Linked DNA regions of Homo sapiens: regions 2, 3 and 4 are each linked to region 1. The links are contacts of gene promoters, found by promoter capture Hi-C in blood cells and fetal thymus (Javierre and others, 2016). All regions are on one chromosome and are shown on one strand. The core of a region is centred on a gene start or on the middle of the fragment in contact, and the rest is flanking DNA. Distances in the headings are between cores, read along the strand shown. Region 1 holds the start of IL24 (interleukin 24). Region 2 overlaps DYRK3 (dual specificity tyrosine phosphorylation regulated kinase 3). Region 3 overlaps MAPKAPK2 (MAPK activated protein kinase 2). Region 4 has its middle 9.7 kb from the start of IL19.

Evidence for each region. The method cuts DNA at HindIII sites, captures the fragments that hold promoters and counts their contacts. A CHiCAGO score of 5 or more calls a contact.
Region 2: a contact is called between a fragment that was not itself captured here and the fragment with the promoter of IL24 in region 1, in 8 of 17 cell types (naive B cells, total B cells, activated CD4 T cells and 5 more). The highest score is 8.4, in naive B cells.
Region 3: a fragment that was not itself captured here is called in contact with the fragment with the promoter of IL24 in region 1 in 7 of 17 cell types (activated CD4 T cells, total CD4 T cells, non-activated CD4 T cells and 4 more); the score reaches 10.3 in activated CD4 T cells.
Region 4: a fragment that was not itself captured here is called in contact with the fragment with the promoter of IL24 in region 1 in 7 of 17 cell types (non-activated CD4 T cells, activated CD4 T cells, naive CD4 T cells and 4 more); the score reaches 8.5 in non-activated CD4 T cells.

The regions. Positions count from the first base shown.
Region 1 is chr1:206,895,622-206,899,375 of GRCh38, forward strand. It overlaps IL24 (interleukin 24), which reads left to right and starts at 1,822. Exons shown (of 7, transcript NM_006850.3): 1 at 1,822-1,994; 2 at 2,110-2,255; 3 at 3,699-3,754. The coding sequence starts at 2,212. LOC105372879 (a long non-coding RNA gene) reads right to left here and starts at 497. Exons shown (of 2, transcript XR_007066836.1): 1 at 373-497. The HindIII fragment of the contact is 4,835 bases long and covers 1-3,754 here.
Region 2 is chr1:206,651,277-206,655,030 of GRCh38, forward strand. It overlaps DYRK3 (dual specificity tyrosine phosphorylation regulated kinase 3), which reads left to right. Exons shown (of 3, transcript NM_003582.4): 3 at 1-3,754. Among named protein-coding and RNA genes, the nearest start is that of DYRK3-AS1, 17 kb to the left of the region's middle. The HindIII fragment of the contact is 765 bases long and covers 1,422-2,186 here.
Region 3 is chr1:206,692,519-206,696,272 of GRCh38, forward strand. All of the region lies in intron 1 of MAPKAPK2 (MAPK activated protein kinase 2), which reads left to right. It also overlaps the pseudogene RPS14P1. Among named protein-coding and RNA genes, the nearest start is that of MAPKAPK2, 9.5 kb to the left of the region's middle. The HindIII fragment of the contact is 5,635 bases long and covers 1-3,754 here.
Region 4 is chr1:206,759,239-206,762,992 of GRCh38, forward strand. No RefSeq gene overlaps it. Among named protein-coding and RNA genes, the nearest start is that of IL19, 9.7 kb to the right of the region's middle. The HindIII fragment of the contact is 945 bases long and covers 1,520-2,464 here.

The sequences.
Region 1 (3,754 bases), core at 572-3,071:
CACTCACCTATTACTCCAGCACTCTCACCTGGTCTTCTTTTCTGTCTCATCACTGCCTCTTGACATCTTTATCTCATAGTAGTTAGTTAGGGGTTCTTGGTAATGCCCTAAATCCACATGGTGGGAAGGGGGGAGTGGGGGAAGAGAGTGCGCTGTGGGGCTGTGCCTACTTCTGGAGGGTAAGACTCGGGCCCTCCAGGAACAAAGGATTCAGGCTGGTGGCAGCTATAGCCAAGCAGACTGCTGGCCAGGGATTGCAAAGGAGTATTTTGTTTGCTTAAGAAAATAAACAACACTGAGTATGAGATGGAGGGAGGGGGTGTTGGTGCCAGAGAGATTGGGAAGAGTCTGCCAAGGGTGTGTTCTACTCACTCTCCTCTTTTCTTTCATCTCCACTGAGCTGGAGGCAGTTATCCTGTCCCCCACGTCACATTCCTACTCCCGTTTCCCATGCCTGGACCCAGGTTGGGCAAACTCTTCCTGTAAAGAACCAGACAGGAACTATTTTAGGCTCTGTGTGCCATATGGTCTCAGTCACAACTACTCATCTCTGCCTCTGTAGCACGAAAGCAATTAGCAACAATATGTCAACAAACATATGTGACCCCATGAAAACTTTATTTATTATGGATACGGAAACCTGAAAATAATGTCTTTCTTTTGATTTTTTCCCCAATCATTAAAAAACGTAAAAACTACTCTTAGGTCGCAAGGTTAAGCCATTCTCAGCTTAGCAGTGGCAGGCTGGATTTGGCTTGTGACCTACAGTTGGCCAATCCCTGATTCCCAAAATGTATTCCTCAGGGATGTGGGCAAATACTTATGGGAAATGCTGGATTAAACAGAGTTAAGAAGCATCAGACATTTCCAGGACGGGCTAGCACATGCCAGGGCTCTCTAACTGACCTCATTAGGATTCATCTGTTTCATGGAGGATCTTGCAAGACAAGAATTCCTCAAACCTAGAGTCTGAGGACTGTGCTTTGGGAAACACTGCTCTGCTTGATGCCCTCACTGGGCACATGGTAGAATCTAGAGCTGAGTGCCTTGCTAGCTGGAGATAGGGTCAGAGCTCTTGACTGCCCTGGCAGTCTTGACACATCACGCTGTCTGTGTCCCCTGAGTGGTTCAGAGCCACACAGGCCAAGACTAGCCCACCAGAGCACCAGGCCTCCCAGCTTTCTGGGCTTGTCCATGCGTACATTTCCTTATTCTTCCTGGTTTCCAGAACCTAAGGAGAGGCACATTTTGGTTGAGTGATTATAACCCTAGGGACCATGGGTAGCTGCATGTCAGGAAACACTCCTCAACTTCCTGGCCCTGATGGATTAAAGGAGAGGTACTTACAGGTTATTTCTTCGCTGTGGACTACTGTCCCAGCATGAATAGGGCATCATTATTGAATTATTTTGACAGGAAGGAGACTGGTGTATGCTGCACAGTAATAATGTATTTACATGTGTACAGAGTTTACCAAGCACCTCTGTGTTGTTTTTGCCTCTGTTTATTACACTTGCCCTTGGGGGGAGGTGGGACAAATTTTTTAAAAATTTATACATGCAGAGACTGCAGCGCAGAGAAGCTAAGAGACTTGCCCCTGCCCACACAGCCAGTGGTAGAGCCTGAACTCAAACCCAGGTCTCATCTCACCTCAGGGGCTGCTTTCCCCATCGCTGTATTGTCCTTAAAGTGATGGGTGACTAGGCAATGAAGTAATTCTCTAGGAAAGCATGACCAATTTCCCTTTCTCCACCTCCCTCTTTTTCCTCCACCCCTCCCCCATCAGCCCCCATATATATGCCCAAATCTCCACAAAGCCTTGCTTGCCTGCAAACCTTTACTTCTGAAATGACTTCCACGGCTGGGACGGGAACCTTCCACCCACAGCTATGCCTCTGATTGGTGAATGGTGAAGGTGCCTGTCTAACTTTTCTGTAAAAAGAACCAGCTGCCTCCAGGCAGCCAGCCCTCAAGCATCACTTACAGGACCAGAGGTGAGCATGGGGGATTCTTGGTTACTTTTTTTTGAAGGACTAGACCTCTGCTTTATTTGTGAAAAGGGGTCAAGGTGGGGACAGCAGAAGTCAATTTTTTTGAGTGTTGATGTAGGGACAAGACATGACTGTGATGAGGAGCTGCTTTCGCCAATTTAACACCAAGAAGAATTGAGGCTGCTTGGGAGGAAGGCCAGGAGGAACACGAGACTGAGAGATGAATTTTCAACAGAGGCTGCAAAGCCTGTGGACTTTAGCCAGGTGCGGTGGCTCACACCTGTAATCCCAGAACTTTGGGAGGCTGAGGTGGGCAGATCATTTAAGGTCAGGAGTTCGAGACCAGCCTGGCCAACATGGTGAAACCCTGTCTCTACTAAAAATACAAAAAAAAATTAGTTGGGCATGTGTTTTTGATATTTTCAGATACAAAAATCCCAGCTACTTGGGCGACTGAGGCATGAGCATCACTTGAACCTGGTAGGCAGAGGTTGCAGTGAGCCGAGATCATGCCACTGCACTCCAGCCTGGGTGACAGACTGAAATTCTGTCAAAAAAAAAAAAAAAAAAAAAAGCCTGTGGAGTTTGAAAGAACAGAATGAAAAGACATTGAGGGAGATGCTAAAGCATAGCCCCCGTCCCCCGTGACCCATAACCCAGGGGTCGCCGCCTCCCTAGCCCAGGTACCAGCAGAACCGGGTCTTCTCTGGTCTTCCTCCCGGTGTAGGGGTGGGAGGCAGTTTCTTTAGGTGTCAGACCAGTGCCTGCAGTAAGAAAGGTTCTTAAATGATTGTGTAAAGAAGTACGAAAGAAAGGGAGAAAGTAAGAAAGGGAGGGAGCGAGAGAGGAAAGAAGGAAGAAAGAAAGGTAAGGAGGGAGGGAGGGAGAGAGGGAGGGAAAGGACAAAGGGCAAAGAAGGCAGGGGGAAAGAAATTCTCTGCATCAGTTATAATAAATACATAATGGCGTTAGGTTCCCCAGCTTGGAGGCTCTTCACTCAGTCCTTCCCAACTGGCACTTCAGAGGAAGGCTTTAGAGATGATTCATCTGGAAATCTGATGCCTCTCTCTCATTTGGTTACTAAAAAAAGTGAATTTTTAGACTCAAGAGTGAGTGGTTAGTGGAGGTGGCATAGTCTGTGTGTGACCCTGACCTGCCCTCTGTGCCCCTCCCTGGGACCAGGATTAACCCCTTGCTCCCTTGTGATGAGGAGTGAGGGACAGCCGTCTCCTGGGGAGGAGAAAAAGACCTGCCAGCCTATGTGTGCCTAGTGGCTTCAGGGCAGAACTTGGATAAGCACATGTCTAGTTCAGCTCTTTGTTTTCCTGGGTTTGGGCTCCCCAGACGTGGCACATTAGAACCTCCCATTTCTCCACTCTTCTGGGTCAAATTCTGACTCGCAGGTTGTAGGCTAGAGAGAACTGCGATGGAGAAGGAGGAGGTGCAGGGCGTGTGGGTGTGGACGGGCAAGGTGGGGAAGAGCAGGTGGACAGATGGCAAGACGAGCGGCCTTAAGTTTGAGGGGCAGAAAGACCCCTGCTTCACCCCCACTGCACCTTAGCAAGGCTGCCGGTTTGCAATAGTCTCAACTTGCCCATTGGAGAGTGCTCGAGATTGGCCCGGGGAGACCCTCGGAGCATTTTCCCAGGGCATGTAACTCTGGGTCAGAGGGCCGGCCTCACAGGCTGCCTCCCTTTCTTTCAGCAGACCCTTCTGCCCTCCTTTGCTGGCGACAGCCTCTCAAATGCAGATGGTTGTGCTCC
Region 2 (3,754 bases), core at 554-3,053, 240 kb before region 1:
AAGTTGGTAGTCCAATGTCTGCTTCCCCGCATTAACCACATTGCGTAGGTTTGGGAATTTTGCAGGTGCTAAATCATCATGGCCAGGAAGATGAAACACCTTGAGAAATGGGAACATCTCTTCACTGTGTTCTTGGATCAGCCTTCTTTCAACTACCAAGAAATGGATGATTTCTCTGCCAACTCCAGGAAGTAGTACAGCATGATTGAATCCTTCTTCAGTGAATCTTTTCATTGTAACTTAGGGTGTAAAAGCTCATATCTACTCAAAAAACTCAAATCTACTCTTTCAGTAGATATGAGCTTACATTGACTTATGAATGGTTTTCCTGTAGGCCCAACAGTGTCATGACCCTCCAGTTGAAACAAAGCATGAGTTATTTTTATATCGAGTCCTTGAACTGCTAGCCAGGTAGATGTTTCCTTGAAGTCCAGAGCAGGATCCAAGTCAGATGAAGGAGGTGGCACACCTGGCTTAACTGCAGATCAGGGAGCATTGAACCTCTACAATTTGCTGCATTGGATTTCTGCATGGGTTTCTCACTGAATAGTAAATTAGAGAAAATGCTACTTTTACTATTTTGCATTTTATATCAACATTAGCAGCCTGTTCCCACTCAGGTGCTGTCCAAGGCACATGTTTCCTTGGGATGTTTGGACAGAATGATCTGGCTTGATGTATTTCTTGGGCTCTGGTACCACATCATAGAGTTGGTTAAATGTAGCCAGCAGCAGTGTCAAGACAGCTGACACTGTCTTCCAAGAGTGAATGCATTGGCCTTTGGAACTGCTGCTAAAGCCATGTGTGGGGTGGCGAGCACATCTTTAGGTGGCAGCAAGGCTATATCTGATTGACACAGATCTGAAGTCTCTAACACCATATTGCTGTTGTCCTGAATTTTCTAACTTGGAGAAATTTAAGGATCTCCTGCATTATCTAGGCAGAGCATATGTTGAGGTTGTTTTGCCAGTTGTTATCAGTGTTGAAGAACTGCTCCTGTAAGCAAACTGTTAAAAGCATTACTACCCCATATGCATCTGATGTACACTGTGTTTTGGTGTTTGTGTTTTTAGTGAGAGTTCTAGCCAGTACTGTGCCTGAACTTGGGAGAGAAAGGGGCCTGTGGCTGAGGTTGGTGCGTGCTCTATTTCTGTGTATCGAATGGACTACAAGGTTACTGAAACTGGGCTAAGGGAAAGTGTATAGACAACTCATTACACTGTAGACAGATTTTAGAAAGCTACAGGAAGGCAAATGGATGTTTCTGCCTCAATTTGGCAACCGAGAGAGTGATGCAGAGCAGAGTCATTGAAGTTGGCATACCTGTCTTCTGCAGGCCAATTCAAGTTTGAGGAGAGTGGGCTGCTTAAAAACATGGTGCTCGTCCACATGGATTTGAGGAAGTTTATGGTTGGGTTTCAAGCTTAGGGACAAGTTGTGGTTTTTAGAGGCAGTAACTCTATGCCACCTTATTGGCCACTGTTAAAAGTTTCACTTGGATCCCTGCCCAGCCATAGCAATGAGTGACTGAATTGGATCAGAGTTAGTACAGAAATTCAGACTGTCTCTTCCTCAGTTACTGGATTGTTCTTTAGCCATTTTTCTTCTAGTCATTTCAGTCAAACTGGTTAGGTTAGGTGACTTACTGAGTTCTAAATTGACAAATTTTAATTTCCAAGTTGTTTCTGACACGGTGAGAGTTGGGTTAGAATTTTTATTTCATTCCCCAAGTCATTTTTTCTTTTTCTTTATTTTTTCTTTTTGAGACAGAGTCTCGCTCTGTCGTCCAGGCTGGAGTGAAGTGGCGCAGTGTTGTCTGCAGCCTCAACCTCCCAGGCTCAGGTGATTCTCCCATCTCAACCTCCAGAGTAACTGGGACTACAGTCACGTGCTACCATGCCTGGCTAATTTTTTGTATATCTGTAGAGAGGGGGTTTCACCATGTTGCTCGGGCTGGTCTTGAACTCCTGGGCTCAAGTGATCCATGTGCCTTACCCTCTCAAAGTGCTGGGATTATAGGTGTGAGCGACCGTGCCCAGCCTCATTTTTTCTTTCAATATGGAAAATTGGCTAATCCACCTAATACCTGCTCATCTTCTAGTATTCTATCCTACCATCTACCCTCAGAGTTATTGATGTACTCTTTCATCATGTGCTATCATGATTTCTCCTTAGATTAGAAAGTAAGCTTCAAATGGGAGTGTGTCTTCATATTGTTCTGAATTAACAGATTTTGATGCCCGCTGATCATGTGCAGATGATGGAAGCTCATTTCCTTCCATGAACCAGGAGCATGCTCGCCTCTTCTTTTAAGTTGACCCACACAATCTCTGATGTCTTCTTTTTGGGAAAGGGTAATGAGATAAGGATTAAGGACATTTTCTTCTGGTCCAGTGTTAGATACAGTTACCTTGATAATAATGAAAAAAAAATGAATACCACCAAAACCTAACTATGATGTAAGGATTCTGCTTCTGCCCCACAGGGGCTCTGAAAGAGTCTAGCCTGGATCTTCTTTCCCAGAGGAAGTTTGACTTATGACCATATTAGTATGCTTTATTCCTTGGTGTTTAAGGGAGTTGGGGCAGACAGGTTAGCTGGCTAATGTCATTACAATTTAGTTTTTGTGACAATCTGTTAAGAAGGGGGCTTATTGCATAATCAAAAAAGAACAATAAAAAAATAAAAATTTCTACTGTGAAACTATTTCAATCTGTAGCAGCTGGTCATGTTAAAACACTTTCTGTTTTGCTTAATTCGTAACTAGGCATAATTAAAGTTAAATGCTAAATTTTAGGTAGCAGCTGATAAATGGTTCTAAGCTTTCCTGACAGAATACTCCTACTACTTTGGTGAATCATGGAAAACTCTTTCTCCTTTATTTTTAATTATTTCTTTTCCATCTGTTATTGATGTCATCAACACGGAAGTTGGAAAGGTGACAATGATTGTTCTAGACTGCCTCTGTAATGCTTTTTCTCCTCTGAGAATTAAAAATACATACTTACACCTTGAGCCAGGTAGAATTGCCAGAACATGTTTTCCTCCGTGTCTTCGGTCTAGATGACCAATCTGTAGAACGCTATAACTTACTATGCGTAGAGCAGCGGCAGGCATTCATGCTATGGAAAACCTGGAGTCAGTACAAATAAGGAGTAAGAAAAGGCCAGGGATTGGCAAATCAAAGAAGAGTTCTCTTCTGCCAGGGATTAGCCTCCTAGTTTTAAATATATTTTTAATATCCCCATTTTAACATACTCCATTTTCACCTTCAACCTATCCTTCCTGAAGCCCAAACTTTTAAAGAATTTACTTCCAGACCTGGCCTTCAGCCTAATATGATTAGGGTGTTTTTCTGAGTGTCTGTCAAATTATGCTGGCTAATTTCAATGAGAAAAGATTTTAGAGTCACAGTGAACCCATCCATAAAAGGACTAAAAGCTCTCTCTGGTCCCTGAGATCCACAACCCCTGAGAGAAGCCAGAACTACAAATGCATCGTCTAGACTTTGAAGAAGCAGGGTATGATTCTTAATATAGCCCACCCATCGCTAAGTCAAGCCTAGACTCTAATATTTTTCTATAACAGGAGAAGCCTCCCTGACTGGAGACTAGAGTCTCACATCTTCTGCCACCACATGAATAGACTAAAAAGAAAGGAGAGTCCCACATCAGGCCAAGTGGTGACCTGTGGCTATTTCAGCTCAGAATGTCAGCCTCTGAAGCATCAGGTTTGAATGACTTTGGTGTCATGG
Region 3 (3,754 bases), core at 883-3,382, 200 kb before region 1:
TCAGGTTTGGTGGGAGGAGGAAGAAAGCCACAGTAGAAGGAGACATAAAGTTGGGCTGGGCCTCTGGCAGTGAAAGGTTCTTGGGGTCTTTATTGTCTGATCAGTAAACACCTCTGTGTGCCAGAATGAGCTGGGACAAGGCCCCAAGGTCAGCCCATATTTGTATCTGGTGTTCTCCTCCAAGACCAGCCAAGCTGTGCGCTCATTCTGCTGGGAACCTGAGCCCTCCAAAAGGGTCATATGAAAGGGCATCTTATTCTTGAGGGACGTTTCCAAGCATCTCTGTGGCCAGTGTCCATCCAGGACTCATCTTAGAGGTGAAGAGTGGTGGCCAGAGGCGGAAGCTAGTGGCCACCCGATGGGAGCCTTTTCTGTTTCAGAGCATATGAGGGAGCTGAGGGAGCTGTACTGTTGATGCCTTCTCTCTGGCTCATCTCCATGAAGATTCTTTTGAACCAGAAGCAAAGGTGAAGTCTCTCTGAGGGGAGGGGCTGAACAGGAGATCTACTGACTGTCCCCCTGCCGACTCCTCCACTTTCGTCCTCCGGCGGGGCTCCTTATCCTCCTGCTTGTCTACAGGGAGAAGATCGAGTTGTTCGTTTGCTGCCATTTTAATGATCCACATTGTTAGGAGGCTCTCAGTACACACCGGACCTTAGCAGCCTGGCCTCCTGCCCAGGGCCCAGAACTGTTACTCAGCCCCTCTGCCGAACAGCTAAAAATAAACCTGCCACTGCTGCAGTCTCCCCTCACAGCCAGGCCCTGTTAGCTGTCCCAGTGCTTCCTGCCACACCGCTGACCTGTTTCTCTCACTTTCTGCTGATATTCTCCCTGCTTGCCCCTTTCTCTTCCAGCCTGAGCTTGGTAGGTGATTTGGGGCTAACTCACTCTTCTGAGTGCTGGGAGACGTGCTATGGTTTTTATGTCTCCAGGTGTCTAGATTTGTGTGTATGAAAGCTCCGTGAAGCTGTCCTGCTTATTTCCCAGTAGGGAAAGGGTTAGACAAAAAGGAGAGTGACCAAGCTCATCAGAGTGGATCAGACCTTCTACTGTGCTCGCCTCCAGCCCTGGCTTCCTCCAGTTTTACCTCCAAGCAGGCCTCTTTGCCAGAGTTACCTGGTTATGGTAACAGAGTTACCATAGTTATATGCTAGGACAGCCCCACATGGGCAGTCTGCCCCAGGCCTTCAACCCGACTGCCCTGTCACCGAGCATGCTACCTACCGTGTACTCCTGCCCTGTTGCTACGTTATATTCTCCACCTCCGCAGTGTGAGGCTTTGGGCTACCACATTCAAAAGTGTGACCTCATCTTGTCAGCGTCCAAGAATAACTGGGCCCTGGCTCTCAGGATCTCCTTCCTGAGTCAGGCCATGGCACCTCTGGCCCTTCCAGCTCAGCCACATGCAGAATGTCACCGAGTGCATGGGTTTCTTCTACCTCTTGACTGCAGTATTGATGTGTGTCCATGGAGGTGTGGCCTCTTCCTCTACTCCCCAGGGATCCTGGAGACTTGTGGAGCAAGATGAGGAAAGGGGCTCAGGTAGCTAGAATATTTGCTTAGCTGATAGATACTGGGCAGAGTCTGACATTGGCATTCTGTTCTTCAGCGTGGCGTTAGTATTCTTTCTGATTTTTTCTAATCCCTAGACAGGTGTTGATACTAATCGTGGCCTAGGAGGGCTCTATGTCTGCTTTCAGGAATTATGGTTTATTTGGGGGAAGGGGTGTATGGTGGAGAGTGATGGCAATGACAACCAAGACATAGGACTTGAGGAACCCACTGCCTTCAGCTAGAGTTACATACTCTGACCATGTGTCGATGGCCTCCTTCTCCCACCTCTCCCCTGGGGCCACATTTCCTCTGCAAGGAAAGATTTATCTGCCAAGGCCCATTGGCCTGTGCAGAGGAAGAGTTGGGCATAGTTGCTAAGTGTTTATTTTTAACTCTGACAGAAGGAGCCCCTGTCCTCAGAATAGCCATACCCTCTGTCTTTCCCTATCCCGACTGCCTTCCTTGGCTTCTGTGATTCCTAGAAGAAGGTTAGTAGGATTCTAAAGGCCAGGCTTCACGGGAGCTGGAGAAGGCTAGCTTCTCTAAGTGAGGAATCTGCAGGTTGCTCGTCATGCTTGGCTTCTGCAGAGCTCAAAGGGTCCTGCGGGGAGAGCCCTGGACACTAAAGGCCGTGTGTCTGGAACTTGGAGAATTCTAGGAATGCAGGTGACCTGATGAGGAGGCTGCATGTGCCCTGCAGCTCAGAGCAGCCTGGCTGCACAGCTGAGTTGGACAGCCCAGCAAGGGGTCATCCCATACCTTCTACATCCTTACAGGCACCCAGATCTCTGGCAGATGGGGAGGCCACAGGGAGAAAATGAGCATATGTAGTAACCTGCCCTGGAAACACTTGCGCTTGCAGACACGCCAAGTGCTGTCATTCCCTCTGACTGCCAGGCTCACGAGCATCATGTCCTTTCCAGCAGAGCCCACCTGCGACTCTTAGTGACTTCATACCCTTTGTGTTCTCTTCCCCTGATGTGCTTTAGTGACCTGTGCTCACAGAGAGGAGGAGGAAGGGTGGCAGTGCCCCCTCTCCTGGGTCTCAGACTTTCCTGACTTTATGCATTTGATTTGGCTACCTGGGCTCGGATACTTTAAAAGAAAATAAAATTAGGTTTGAGGTGTAACCAGAGAGAGAAGGAATAGAGAGTAGTAGGGGGTGGGATGGGTGGTTGAAACATGTGGCTAACTCTGAGAACCCTCAGCTATGGAAGGAAGGTCTTGCCCCCATGATTCTTCGGCGTGCAGTGGGGGATTAGTTTGCCCAGAGCCCAGCTCTGATCATGTAGCTTCCCAGCTTAAGCCCTTCAGTGGGTCTCTCTGCCTGCAGAATACATGAGATATCCACATCTTTCCCAGATCTGGCCCTGATCTGTTTTTTTTTTTTTTTTTGGAACACATGCTTTTTTTTTCTCCCCAGCTTAAGTGGCTTATATATGTTGTTTCTTTAACAGAACTGTGCTTTCCACCCCCACACCTTAGCATCTATCCATCTGCATCTTCTCTGTACCATGCCTGTCCCCCGTCCTGTCTATATCTACCTTTTCCACCCTGCACAGATGCTGCTTTTCCAGAGCCTTTCGCACCAAAAGTGGGTCTTCCCATCCTTCCCCATCAAACTTGCTGATACACTCTTACCTTTTATTTCTCTGTTTAAGTGCATTTCTCCATGTGCAAGGCATCTCTCTCTCTCTCTCTTTTTTTTTTTAACAGGAAGGTAATTTATTAACGGAAAATATTTGAGGAGTCCTGTGCACAGTGACCATGGCAACCCCCCTTCCTGCGGGTGCTGTCAGAGGGGTTGGGAGTGACGTCCTCAATCTGTCCGATCTTCATACCTGAGCGGGCAAGGGCCCTGAGGGCCACCTGGGCCCCAGGTCCAGGGGTCTTGGTTCTACTTCCTCCTATGGCTCGGAGTTCGATGTGTAGGGCAGTGATACCCAGCTCTGGGCCACATCCCGGGCAGCCAACATAGCAGCATGTGGTGAGGATTCATCTCACCTGCCTTCACCTTCATCCTACCAGTCACACGGCAGATGATTTCTTTGCCAGAAAGATCAGTGACATGGACAAAAGTGTCATTGAAGGATGCAAAGATATGGCAGACACCAAATACATTCTCTCCTTCAGCCACCTGAGGTCTGAGGCTGATGACCTGTTCTTCCTTCTTTTCCTTCCCCTTTCAAGGTGCCATTTC
Region 4 (3,754 bases), core at 742-3,241, 140 kb before region 1:
AAACCTTGCACTTCTCTCAATTCCTGTTTATTACCACCTTAGTCCAGAACACAATTTCTTCCTGTCTGGACTGGAAGCAAATGGCTCCTAAATGGTCTCATACAGAAGGTATATATTATCCTCTCTGTTTAATAGCCTTCAATGGCTTCCCTTTGCTCTTAGAGTCTAAATTTTTGACCATAGCCTACCATCCCTGAGTGATCAGACCCATGCCCACTTCTTCAAGCTCGTCTTAAATCTCTCCCCATCACATATAATGTCCCTTACTCTCTGTGATTCATCTTTTAGTTTCTCAAAGAGTTTAAGTTTCTTCTTGCCTCAGGGCCTCAGAACATGAGATGGGATGGAGAAGTCAGAGAGCTGTGAAGAGAGCCCAGGGTCCAGCTGGGTCGTGAATTGGTACAAATTTACCTTTGCTCCAGAGATAAACCCCTTCTCCCCCGTTCTTTGCTGTTCTTAGTGGTCTTTAAATCTGCAAAATGCTCTGCTTCTTACCACCTCTCTCTTCATTGGGCCAGCTCCTGCTCATCCTTCATGTCCAGTTGAATGTTACCATCTCATGAAAGCATCCCCTAGCCCTGAGTCTAGGTTAGTTGCTTTCTGAAATCTCACACTTCTAATTAATAGAAATAATCATGATTATAATAACATTATATAGTTAACTTTATAATATCTGTTTCCTCAACTAGCTATTAAATCCGTGTAGCTGGAGCCAGGATTGGTGGGAGGCTGAGGAAGGAGGATCACTTGCACCTAGGAGTTCAAATCCAGCCTGGGCAACATAGTGAGACCCCCATCTCTATTTAAAAAATTAAAAGAAATCCACGAGGGCAAGGATTATGTCTGTCTTATTCACTGCTTTTTCTTCGACACCCAGCATAGTACCTGGAGCATAATAAGTTCTGAGTGAATAAGTGTGTATCTTGTAAAACCTCTGGCTTGGCTTGCCTCCAAGCCAGAGGTTTGGAGACTCCTTTCCAAAAAAAAAAAAAAAAAAAAAAGAAAAAGAAAAAGATGTAATAGATGACTGCCAAATAGAACTCTGATTGACATGAGGCAACCTGTCTTTCCACACAAAGTGGATGACTCCATCTTTGCAGATTATGGAGAAGCAATCTGCTTCTCTTTCGATTTGGGTGTCATGATCATCAGACATGAATGTGGAGATTATTATGTAGGGAGATTCAATTAGTTACTTAATGCCACATACTGACCAAAGTTACTAATTCAGCCTTGGTGAAGAGTATATAATAGGGTCAGTTTGCGGAAATAACATCCCACTTCCCTAAGTAATGCAGGAAGACTTCTTTAAATAAGCATAAGATTCCGGGTTGTATACTGGACACACAATGAGCTCTGTTATGCAATGGCTTCATGACCTTGGAAAATATTTTTTTCTTGAATAATAGTAAGGGAGAATAGAATAGTTGGCTGAATTCTCATATTTCATATTGCTAGCAGATCAGCAGCAATGATGGAGAAAGCATATTTGAGCAAAGTCCAGTGCTGTAATCGAATAAGCTTTCTACATGGTTGATCTAATCTATACTTAATAGTATGTGTAGCTATTATTGCTCTAAATGGCAGTTAGGCATGTATATTAAGCTGTTCACTGGATTTATAGAACTCTAGGGGCTATAATTCATAATGTGTATTTTTTTACTTCACCAAGCCAAGCATTTCTGAGGTCACCTTCAGGAAATTGAAAGTGGGCACTCAAAAATGGTTGCTTCCTTTCTTTCCCTTCCAAGTGCAGGGACAAACCATTTACTCTTTCCGCCCAGAAATGGTGGTAGGGAGGCAGAAGGCACTGTAAGGAAAAGCCCAGGTCTATGATTGGTACAAGCGCAAGGCATGTCCAGCTATTTTCCATGGTGTTGGCACCTATTGTTCCATCTGGTTGGATGGGAGCATTTTCCCAAATGTCTGCGATAGAGCTGCTTTTATTAAGTATTTACTCTGTGCCGGGAGACTTTTATGTATTCAAGCCTTTATTTTTTCTGACGACACCTTGAAAGAGTAATTATTCTCTCCATGTTACAGAGGAGAATACCAAGCTAGGGAATGTCTCAAGGTCATGTAGCTGAGAAGTAAGTGGAAGCCTGGGCTCAGACTCCAGAGGCTGTGCATGTCACCCTGTGCTGTAGAGTCAGAGGTACGCTGTGTCACTTTCCTTAGGTCTTTTATGTCCCCCTTGTCCTCTCCAGCCAGGGTGCCAAGGAGGCCTCTGGAAGCTAAAGGCTCAATGGCAGCTCAATTCTGCTGGGGGAGGGAGCTGTTGATAATACACAGATAAATGGGAACTGCCTGGCAAATTAGGAGTGCAGATGCTGTAGACACAGGAATGAGTCCTGGAGGAGGATTCCAGTGGGAATAGGCCTGGTGGACTGGAGGAGTCAGTGGCTGGAATGAGGAACTACAGGCTCGAACAGAATTTAGAGGTCATCTAGTTTAGCGACTTTTAAGCTTTTAATTGAAGGACTGCTGCTATTAAATTTCTCCAGAGACTCTCTGTTTTAAAATGTTTTGGCTGCTTAAAAACTTTTTAAAGAAATAATTCCATTTTCTGATTGCCTTAATCAAAGATGTAATAGATGGGCTGGGCATGGTAGCTCATACCTGTAATCCTAGCATTTTGGGAGGCTGAGGCAGGTGGATCTCTGGAGGCCAGGAGTTCAAGACCAGCCTGGCCAACATGGTGAAACCCCGTCTCTACTAAAAATACAAAAATTAGCTGGGCGTGGTGGCGGGCACCTGTAATCTCAGCTACATGGGAGGCTGAGGCGTAAGAATCGCTTGAACCTGGGAGGCAGAGGTTACAGTGAGCTGAGATCGTGCCACTGCACACTCCAGCCTGAGCGACAGAGCGAGACTCCTTGGCAAAAAAAAAAAAAAAAAAGAAAAGAAAAAGATGTAATAGATAACGGCCAAATAGAACTCTGATTGGCATGGGACAAACTGTCTTCCCACACAAAGTGGATGACTCCATCCAAACAGGGAGAAGTGCTTTTTAATGAGCTTGTGCAGACTTATGAGAGGAGGTGTTGCTAAATGCACAATTTCCATGAGGCTTTTTCAAATTTTGGAAATTGCTCAGACTACCCCCATCACCTGCTATAAGCGCTGTCACTCTTGTCCCCAGGAGCGACTGGCTCCACTGTAGTGGCCACAGAGGTGAATGGTTTTCCCCAAGGGAAACCATTGATTCAGACCTATTTTCTTATTTATTGTTGAGGAAACTGAGTCCCAGACAAGTTAAGTAAAATCTTTGAAGTCACCAAGTGAGTTAGTGCCTAGAAGGGGTATTGAATAATGGAACCCATGTGTCACCTGGGACCCACTAGCCCCTGAAGATATGCAATTGACTGGTTCATTCTGTAGCCAGTTCTGTCGCTTATGAAAGTTGAAAGATCTTCCCATTATTTAAAATTCTGGGTTTATGTTCTTACAATTCAGCTCCCATTTCCTTGGAGTGTTAGGTCTGGTTTTCCCTAAATCACCCCAGGACTAAAGCTGGTTCCCGTATTCCACAGTTAAAACTACTCATATAAGTGTTTTGAGGGGGACACATGTCACAGAATGGGAAGTTTTGTCACTGAACTAACTTGCCTTTCTCCTTTCCTTTCCTTTCCTTTCCTTTCCTTTCCTTTCCTTTCTCTCTCTCTCTCTTTCTTCCTTCCTTCCTTTCTTTCTTTCTTTTTCTTTTTCTTTCTTTCTTTCTTCTTTCTTTTTCTTTTTCTCTTTCTTCCTTCCT